Linked DNA regions of Homo sapiens: all the other regions are linked to region 1. The links are contacts of gene promoters, found by promoter capture Hi-C in human tissues and cell types (Jung and others, 2019). All regions are on one chromosome and are shown on one strand. The core of a region is centred on a gene start or on the middle of the fragment in contact, and the rest is flanking DNA. Distances in the headings are between cores, read along the strand shown. Region 1 holds the start of GPRC5A (G protein-coupled receptor class C group 5 member A). Region 2 overlaps ETV6 (ETS variant transcription factor 6). Region 3 has its middle 100 kb from the start of GRIN2B.

What was found. Contacts are between HindIII fragments. The study calls those that stand out against the background at their distance.
Region 2: a contact is called between a fragment that was not itself captured here and the fragment with the promoter of GPRC5A in region 1, in 1 of the 25 tissues and cell types used here (IMR-90 fibroblasts).
Region 3: a contact is called between a fragment that was not itself captured here and the fragment with the promoter of GPRC5A in region 1, in 1 of the 25 tissues and cell types used here (dorsolateral prefrontal cortex).

What each region holds. Positions count from the first base shown.
Region 1 is chr12:12,889,703-12,892,843 of GRCh38, reverse strand. It overlaps GPRC5A (G protein-coupled receptor class C group 5 member A), which reads right to left and starts at 1,282. Exons shown (of 4, transcript NM_003979.4): 1 at 1,180-1,282. The HindIII fragment of the contact is 16,829 bases long and covers 1-3,141 here.
Region 2 is chr12:11,706,579-11,709,820 of GRCh38, reverse strand. The region is part of intron 1 of ETV6 (ETS variant transcription factor 6); the gene reads right to left. Among named protein-coding and RNA genes, the nearest start is that of ETV6, 59 kb to the right of the region's middle. The HindIII fragment of the contact is 6,682 bases long and covers 1-3,242 here.
Region 3 is chr12:14,081,210-14,084,125 of GRCh38, reverse strand. No RefSeq gene overlaps it. Among named protein-coding and RNA genes, the nearest start is that of GRIN2B, 100 kb to the right of the region's middle. The HindIII fragment of the contact is 4,357 bases long and covers 1-2,916 here.

The sequences.
Region 1 (3,141 bases), core at 33-2,532:
CCCACAGCAGTGGCTGATTCGGCCGAACCCTTCAACAGGTGTGGTGTTTACACAAGCCTCTGAGGAGACAATCAGGAATGGAAAGAAGTCAGGAATGGAAAGTCCTTCAAATTCCTTGATTCTGAGCAGGTTTCAGCTGTTAGCTAGCCTTTCCCATGGATGTTTAAAGCTATCTGTGGCCGGGCGCGGGGGCTCACACCTGTAATCCCAGCACTTTGGGAGGCTGAGGCGGGCAGATCACCTTAGGTCGGGAGTTTGAGACCAACCTGACCAACATGGGGAAACCCCGTCTCTACTAAAAATACAAAATTAACCAGGAGTGGTGGTGCATGCCTGTAATCCCAGCTACTCGGGAGTCTGAGGCAGGAGAATCGCTTGAACCCGGGAGGTGGAGGTCGCGGTGAGCTGAGATCGCAACATTGTACTCCAGCCTGGGCAACAAGAGTGAAACTCCATCTCAAAAAATAAAATAAAGCTATTTGCCAGCCTTCCCCATGGATGTTTAAGGGACCAGATGGAACAGCATCTATGCTATTCCCAAATCCTATCCATAAAGTCGGTAGTGGAAGGTGCACTCTCAGCGCACATTCAACTTTCATCTGTCCCAGGTTTCTGAGCAACTCAAGGCACACCAGAGTGGAACTGACCGCCCACACATCAAGAGAAAAGGGATGGGCTTCTAGATCTAATTCCCAAAACTCAGAAGGGCTTTTTGCAGCATCTGGGTAAAATAGTAGCTGTCACCGTGTCCTCCCTCCTGCCCCTGCCCCTTGTTTCCCACTCCCCCTCCACTCCCAGTACCTTCGGGTCCTCTGAGATCTTTCTCCCTCTATTCTTTTCCTGCAGAGTGATCCCAGAGCTGCTCACCTCCTGCCTGGCCGGATTCCATCTACTCAAAGTTTGTAGAATGTGTCCGAGCAGAAACTATTACCCTGATTATCTCTTTGCTCTCTGCCTCTATCTTAGCCTAGGAAACCCGCAAAGGGGAAAAAAAAAAAAAAAAATCTGAGTTGTTAAACTAGAGGAACTGTTTCCTAGGGAATTTTTTTCTCATAGCCAACTGTATTCCATTACCAGGATTTCTCTCCTCTTCTATCCCACCCCTCCCAACGCCCCGCTCTCCCCAGACGATTTAAATCCGGAGGCCCCAGCGCTCTGGGCTCCTGGCGCCTCACTTACCCTAGTGCCAAGGCGTTGGCCGTGAACTTGGTGCTGCTTCCCGCGCGCAAGAGGGCAGCAGGCGAGCTCCTCAGTGCTGGGGGAGACCTTGGACAGCTATCCCGCCCTCGCACTCTGAGCAGTTGTTATAAAGGCGGCCCTCGCCGGAGGGAGGGAACGAGCGAGGGGTGAGCAGAGGGACAAGGAGGGGGAGGGTCGAGGGAGAGGACACGCCTATTCCAGTTCCACGGCACTTCATGCTGTTATGAAAATAAAGTCCCCGTGCCAGGGAATGACCCAAAAACCGTCTGACGTCAGAGGCACAGTCACCCCTGGAAGCTGGGCGGGGGTGACCACCCGGCCCTGCCCAGCGCATCGGACTCCTCCGAGACGTGCTCACGCGCTGGTCCCAGGGCGCCGGCTACGAGAGGGGAGCCGGAGCAGACCAGCTCCTTACGGGCCCCGCCAGCTGTCACCTCCCGGGGGAGCCACACCCGCCTCCCCGCAGGCACTCGGGTCCACCCGGGGCAAGGGCCCAGCCCGCGAGATTGCAGCAGCTCCGCCGTCAAGTCCAGCGGGACAAGCCAGCCTTCCTCCACTTTCTTTGACCTTAGCTTAGCCTTTCTCTCCATCACTCTCCCCCAGCCACTGCCGTATGGGAAGCCAGGCTTCAGAAAAAGGAGGCAGCCACCTTCTCAGGGCTCCCCAGCCAAAGCCACGTGAAAGCCAAGGAAAACTTCCCCCACCAGGTCCGTAGTTAGCTCAGCAGCTCCACCTGTCAGAGTCTAGACAGGCACCATTAGTGCTGCCCTGGGGCTGAGAGATCAGTATCTCTCCTTTCCTAACTGCCTCTCCTAAAGCCTCGACAATGCAGGCTGATTGAACGGGGGCGCCAGATGAAATTATGAAATGAAGGAATTTGCTTTGGTGCCTGGTTTCCCCTCCCTCCACTGCCCACTCCTCTTCCAGGATCAAGCCAATCGGACCGAAACTCGTCTTTGTTTACGTGTGGAACGATCCTGGAGTGGCTGCCCGCCTGTGTCGGGGCTCAAGCCAGGTTCTACCCCATGCCACGGGGAGGCAGGAGGGACTCTGTTTTTAAAGTGGTTATCAGCGCGCTTGGTAAACTAATCTGGATTATTCTGCATATGAAGAAATGGGGGAAGGCCCAGGGCTCCCCAGCTTTCTCTTCACTTCTCCCCACACCCCAAGTCTCCAGAGCCTAAAGTGCTTTTAAAATGTGACCTACTGGAGACTGTGACCCCACCATTGTTAGGTTTTTATTTCACTCCCAAAAAACCACAGGCAGTGCCTTGAGTGTTGGAACACTTTGAGGTATGCAGCCCAGGGGTCTGTGAGTCCACCCATTTCACACCTAAGACTCCCAGGGGTGTGTGTGGCAGAGTGGGGGTGGGTACTGAGAGACTGGTGGGACTGCAAATGACAGTGCTTTATAGTGTGTGCCATCCGCTAAGTCAGGGCTTCTCTCCGGACCCCAGCGTTCTCGTCTGTTCAAGAAGTTGAACTAGACTACCATTGTACAATAGAACTATAATTCAAGCCACAAACATAAGCCACATTTGTTTTTTATTTTTTGTGTGTTTTTTCTTTTTTAGACAAGGTCTCGCCGTCACCCAGGCTGGAGTACAATGGCACAATCGGCTCACTGCAGCCTCAATCACCCAGGCTCAAGCTATCCTTCCACCTCAGCCTCCCAAGCACCCAGGACCACATGTGTGCATTACCACACCTGGCTAATTTTTTTGTTTGTTTCTTGTTTGAGACACTCTCACTTTGTCACCCAGGCTGGGGTGCAGTGATACCATCATGGCTCACTGTAAGCCTTTACCTCCCAGGCTCAAGCAGTCTTCCCGCCTCAGCCTCCCAAGTAATTCTTTTTATTATTTATAGAGACAAGGTCTCGCTGTGTTGCACATGCTGGTCTCAAACTCCTGGGTTCATGCCATCCTCCAGCCTTGGCCT
Region 2 (3,242 bases), core at 422-2,921, 1.2 Mb after region 1:
CCGGTGGTGCAGTGTAAGTCTGAAGGCCATCTGCTGTGGCATTCCCTCTTCGGTTCTATTCAGGCCTTCAACTGATTGGGTGAGGCCTACCCGCATTACGGAGGGCCATGTGCTTTACTCAAAGTCCACCAATTTAAATATTAGTCTCATCCATAAATACCTTCACAGAAACATCCAGAAGAATATCTGATCATACATATGAGCACTGTGGCCCATCTAAGTTGACACATAAAATTAAGCATCACTTGTGCCCTAGGTGTTCTGCATTCAGAGATCCTATATCACAATTACTAGATTTCCAAAGAAAACATGAGATCTAGCCAGGTGCAGTGGTACAGGCCTATATTCTCAGCTATTGGGAGGTTAAGGTGGGAGGATCATTTGAGCTCAGGAGTTCCAGACCAGCCTGCACAACATAGCGAGACCTCATCTCGAAAAGAAAGAAAAGAAGAAGAGAGGAGAGGAGAGGAGAGGAGGAGAGAAGAAAAGATCAAACGCTTTCAAAAAAGAAAAAAAGGAACGGAATAAAATCTGTAAAATTTAAGACAGTGGCTAACTGGGATAAGAGGGCAGGGGTAGAATGAGGAAGAAGGTAGAGGTATATAGGTAGGGTATCAATATCAGTCATTTTGGTTCTTATGTTGGGTGGTGAGTTCATAGGTGTTCACTGTATCATCATGCTTTGTAACTCACATAGCTTCTTGGTTATATATCAAATATTACATATAGAATACAATGGGGGGTGGGGAACGAATCAAGCTTTCAGGCCACACGTGTGCATCACCTCAATGCAGCCTCCCCTGACCACTCCTGAACAGACATTTCTCTTTCTCTGATCAACTGTCTCTCCATTCATGAGCTGATATTGCTAGGTAACTTTTCATGTGCTTAGACCTTGCCTTTTCGAATGGATTTTAAGTCCCTCAAAATTCTGGGACAGTTTCTTACACATCTTTCTACTCTCCCACAGGGTCTGAGTGAGTGTCTGAGTAACTCAATAAATTCTCATTGATGGCTGAAAAGCAAGATGAGTCGGGGTAGGAATAACAAAAATAAACCAGCAGAAAAGCAGGGTTGGTTGAGTGGCACTGGGTGTCAGCTTTCTGGAAGTCACTAACAGCTCCAAAAGTTGACTTGAGAGGTCAGAAGCGAGGCAGGGTACATATACGATTCCTGAATGTGCCTAGAATGAAACAATGTCCATCCCCCATGATACTGGCCTACAAGTGGTACCTGTGATAACACAGCAAGGCTTGTAGAAGGGAATGTACACAAGACAGGGGGGAGTCTGGGCCGTCTGTGATGTCCAGACTGCAAGAAACCAGTGGAAAAGTCCCTCCCAGGGAGGTGGCACCTCAGCTCCAAGTTTCCTTAAGAAAACGCAGTTACAGCACCATTATACTTCTTGCTAAGTCCCCAAATTTCCAGTCTTTCAGCAGCTTCCCACCCAGTCTGTTCAATACCTTAGAAGACAACAGCACTCCCTTGCAGAGCACAAGTGAGGACTGCTTTATCTGTTCTCAAATTCCAAGTCTACATTCTTGTTCTTTTTTTTTTTTTTTTCACTGAGACTCCCCAACCCTAAACTTGAGATGCTCCCATCTGTCCCATGAACCCCAGCTCTGTCTGGCTTATTCCAATTTAGGTTAAAGAGATCAAGGCTGGATGTGGTAGTGAGAACTCTCTCCTGTTGGAAACAAAGGTTACCCTGAAGGAAATGTACAGCTTTCGACGTATGCTCACCACAGAGGGAAGCATAACAGAACATTCAAAATTATAACAGAATAACTTAAAATCAGGCTGAGAAAATCACAAATACAACTGCTAAGGGAAGAAAAGATAGACTTCAAACGGCTTATAAATTGATCCTGCTAAAAGGTCACTTTACTGCCATAAGATAGGAGGAGACAAAGTTGAGATTAAAATTATCATAACCATGTTCTAGTTCAGTTTCTCAGTTAACAGGTAAATATGGCCCTGTGAGGTGACATGCCAGGTCACTGGACGGAGAAGAACCAGAGCCAGGGATCACCACTCCATGGCCAATGCCTGTGTGCCATGACGTTCTCCAGGACCGATCCCCTTGGCCACTTGCCACATACGACTCGGGGCCTGTGTACCTGGCACTGAATCAAAGAAAGGTCCCGATTAGAATCCATAAATCTACATGCAGGAGGTTAGAGGGGAGAAATTGAGAAGAAAATCATTCTTTCCATACACTAAAAGGAAAATCATCAGTGGCTAAAGCAATCTGAGAACACCCATGCTTCCGACATTTCTCACATTTAGAAAAAAACGCCCCATGATGACAGAATTCTCAACACCAGCCTGCTATTTGGAACTAAAGGAACAAGTGGGAGCATGAAAGGGATCGATGGAAACGCAGTGCACAACTAGGATTTTCAAACAATCTACATCCAGCTCAGGTAGAGAAGCGCTGCGATTCCCACAGGTGTGCTCCCATTCTAAGCCAGGAGACCACCTCTAGCAGGTGAGCCTGCCTGCCACAGCAAGCCTGCTCATGGGAAATGAGCCCGCTGCTCAGGATTCTTTATTATTTTTAAGACTTCCCATTTGAGAAGCAGGGAATGTGATTTTTTTTCCTCTCCAACACGTTTTTTTCACGTCTAGCCTCCTTTACACAGCTGCTCTTCTTCAAGACTCTGCAATTGAGCGCTCTTGTTTACTTTCTTCTGAGTTCCCTGAGGTTTGATTGTTGAGGCCTGTGCAAGTCAGTGATTAGCATTCTGACTTCAATTCCTTCTTCAGAGTCAGCCAAAGGAGTCCAAGAAGTTGGCCACAACCACCCCCTGGGAACAATAGACCCTTTCTACAAAATACAGGTTTGTCTTCCTTTTCAAATACACAGGAGTTGGTCCCCTGGCAGAGAGGTCTACCTGACAGTACAAACTGTTCGCTGTGAAGTAGAGGGCTTTCCAAACAAGCAGCATCAACCTGCAGGTCATATGTGCACCAGAGTAAAGATTTCACCTCGATTCCATTTACAGAACTCAAAAGGTAAATTGTACGCCCCATCTGAAAGAAAACAGATATGGCTAGGAATGCAATCGTCCTAGAAATACCTGGCTTGTAACAGTCGGGCCCTGCAAGGGCAGCTGGGGTGTATGATGCAAGCCAGTGCTCTCCCACCCTCTCCACTTGCCTCTTATCTGTCCTGCTCACAAAACAGTGCAGGTGGCCCTACTATCTCCTAGCACCTAAAACTGAAGTCATTAGAAAAC
Region 3 (2,916 bases), core at 190-2,689, 1.2 Mb before region 1:
AGCTTTGTTCTTTTTGCTTAGGATTGTCTTGGCAATGCGGGCTTTTTTTGGTTCCATATGAACTTTAAAGTAGTTTTTTCCAATTCTGTGAAGAAAGTCATTGGTAGCTTGATGGGGATGGCATTGAATCTATAAATTATCTTGGGCAGTATGGCCATTTTCACGATATTGATTCTTCCTATCCATGAGCATGGAATATTCTTCCATTTGTTTGTGTCCTCTTTTATTTCATTGAGCAGTGGTTTGTAGTTCTCCTTGAAGAGGTCCTTCACATCCCTTGTAAGTTGGATTCCTAGGTATTTTATTCTCTTTGTAGTAATTGTGAATGGGAGTTCACTCATGATTTGGCTCTCTGTTTGTCTGTTACTGGTGTGTAAGAATGCTTGTGATTTTTGTACCCTGATTTTGTATCCTGAGCCTTTGCTGAAGTTGCTTATTAGCTTAAGGAGACTTTGGGCTGAGCTGATGGGGTTTTCTAAATATACAATCATGTCATCTGCAAATAGGAACAATTTGACTTCCTCTTTTCCTAATTGAATACCCTGTATTTCTTTGTCCTGCCCATTGCCCTGGCCAGAATTTCCAACACTATGTTGAATAGGAGTGGTGAGAGGGGGCATCCCTGTCTTGTGCCAGTTTTCAAAGGGAATGCTTCCAGTTTTTGCCCATTCAGTATGATATTGGGTGTGGGTTTGTCACAAATAGCTCTTAGTATTTTGAGATACGTCCCGTCAATACCTAATTTATTGAGAGTTTTTAGCATGAAGGACTGTTGAATTTTGTCAAAGGCCTTTTCTGCATCTTTTGAGATAATCATGTGATTTTTGTCTTTGGTTCTGTTTGTATGATGGATTACATTTATTGATTTGCGTATGTTGAACCAACCTTGCATCCCAGGGATGAAGTCCACTTGATCATGGTGGATAAGCTTTTTGATGTGCTGCTGGATTCGGTTTGCCAGTATTTTATTGAGGATTTTTGCATCAATGTTCTTCAGGGATATTGGTCTAAAATTCTTTTTTTGTTTTGTCTCCACCAGGCCTTGGTATCAGGATGATGCTGGCCTCATAAAATGAGTTAGGGAGGATTCCCTCTTTTTCTATTGATTGGAATATTTTCAGAAGGAATGGTACCAGCTCCTCCTTGTACCTCTGGTAGAATTCAACTGTGAATCCATCTGGTCCTGGACTTTTTTTGGTTGATAGGCTATTAATTACTGCCTCAATTTCAGAGCCTGTTATTGATCTATTCAGGGATTCAACTTCTTCCTGGTTTAGTCTTGGGAGGGTGTAGGTGCCCAGGAATTTATCCATTTCTTCTAGATTTTCTAGTTTATTTGGGTAGAGATGTTTATAGTATTCTCTGATAGTAGTTTGTATTTCTGTGAGATCTGTGGTGATATCCCCTTTATCATTTTTTATTGCATCTATTTGATTCTCCTCTCTTTTCTTCTTTATTAGTCTTGCTAGCGATCTGTCAGTTTTGTTTATCTTTTCAAAAAACCAGCTCCTGGATTCATTGATTTTTTGAAGGGTTTTTTGTGTCTCTATCTCCTTCAGTTCTGCTCTGATCTTAGTTATTTCTTGCCTTCTGCTGCTTTTGAATGTGTTTGCTCTTGCTTCTCTAGTTCTTTTAATTGTGATGTTAGGGTGTCAATTTTAGATCTTTCCTGCTTTCTCTTGTGGGCATTTAGTTTCTATAAATTTCCCTCTACACACTGCTTTGAATGTGTCCCAGAGATTCTGGTATGTTGTGTCTTTGTTCTTATTGGTTTCAAAGAGCACTTTCTTTCTGCCTTCATTTCGTTATGTACCCAGTAGTCATTCAGGAACAGGTTGTTCAGTTTCCACGTAGTTGAGTGGTTTTGAGTGAGTTTCTTAATCCTGAGTTCTAGTTTGATTGCACTGTGGCCTGAGAGACAGTTTGTTATAATTTCTGTTCTTTTACATTTGCTGAGGAGTGCTTTACTTCCAACTATGTGGTCAGTTTTGGAATTAGTGCGATGTAGTGCTGAGAAGAATGTATATTCTGTTGATTTGGGGTGGAGAGTTCTGTAGATGTCTATTTGGTCCACTTGGTGCAGAGCTGAGTTCAATTCCTGGATAACCCTGTTAACTTTCTTTCTCGTGGATCTGTCTAATGTTGACAGTGGGGTGTTAAAATCTCCCATTATTATTGTGTGGGAGTCTAAGTCTCTTTGTAGGTCTCTAAGGACTTGCTTTATGAATCTGGGTACTCCTGTATTGGGTGCATATATATTTAGGATAGTTAGCTGTTCTTGTTGAATTGATCCCTTTACCATTATGTAGCAGTCTTCCTTGTCTCTTTTGATCTTTGTTGGTTTAAAGTCTCTTTTATCAGAGACTAGGATTGCAATCCCTGCTTTTTTTTGTCTTCCATTTGCTTGGTAGATCTTCTTCCATCCCTTTATTCTGAGTTTATGTGTGTCTCTGCATGTGAGATGGGTCTCCTGAATACAGCACACTGATGGGTCTTGACTCTATCCAATTTGCCAGTCTTTGTCTTTTAATTGGGGCATTTAGCCCATTTACATTCAAGGTTAATATTGTTATGTGTGAATTTGATCCTGTCATTATGATGTTAGCTGGTTATTTTGCTCGTTAGTTGATGCAGTTTCTTCCTAGCATCGATGATCTTTACAATTTGGCATGTTTTTGCAGTGGCTGGTACTGGTTGTTCCTTTCCATGTTTAGTGCTTCCTTCAAGAGCTCTTGTAAGGCAGGCCTGGTGGTGATAAAATCTCTCAGCATTTGCTTGTCTGTAAAGGATTTTATTTCTCCTTCACTTATGAAGCTTAGTTTGGCTGGATATGAAATTCTGGATTGAAAATATTGGCCCCCACTCTCTTCTGGCTTGTAGAGTTTCTGCCGAGTGATCTGCTGTTAGTCTGATGGG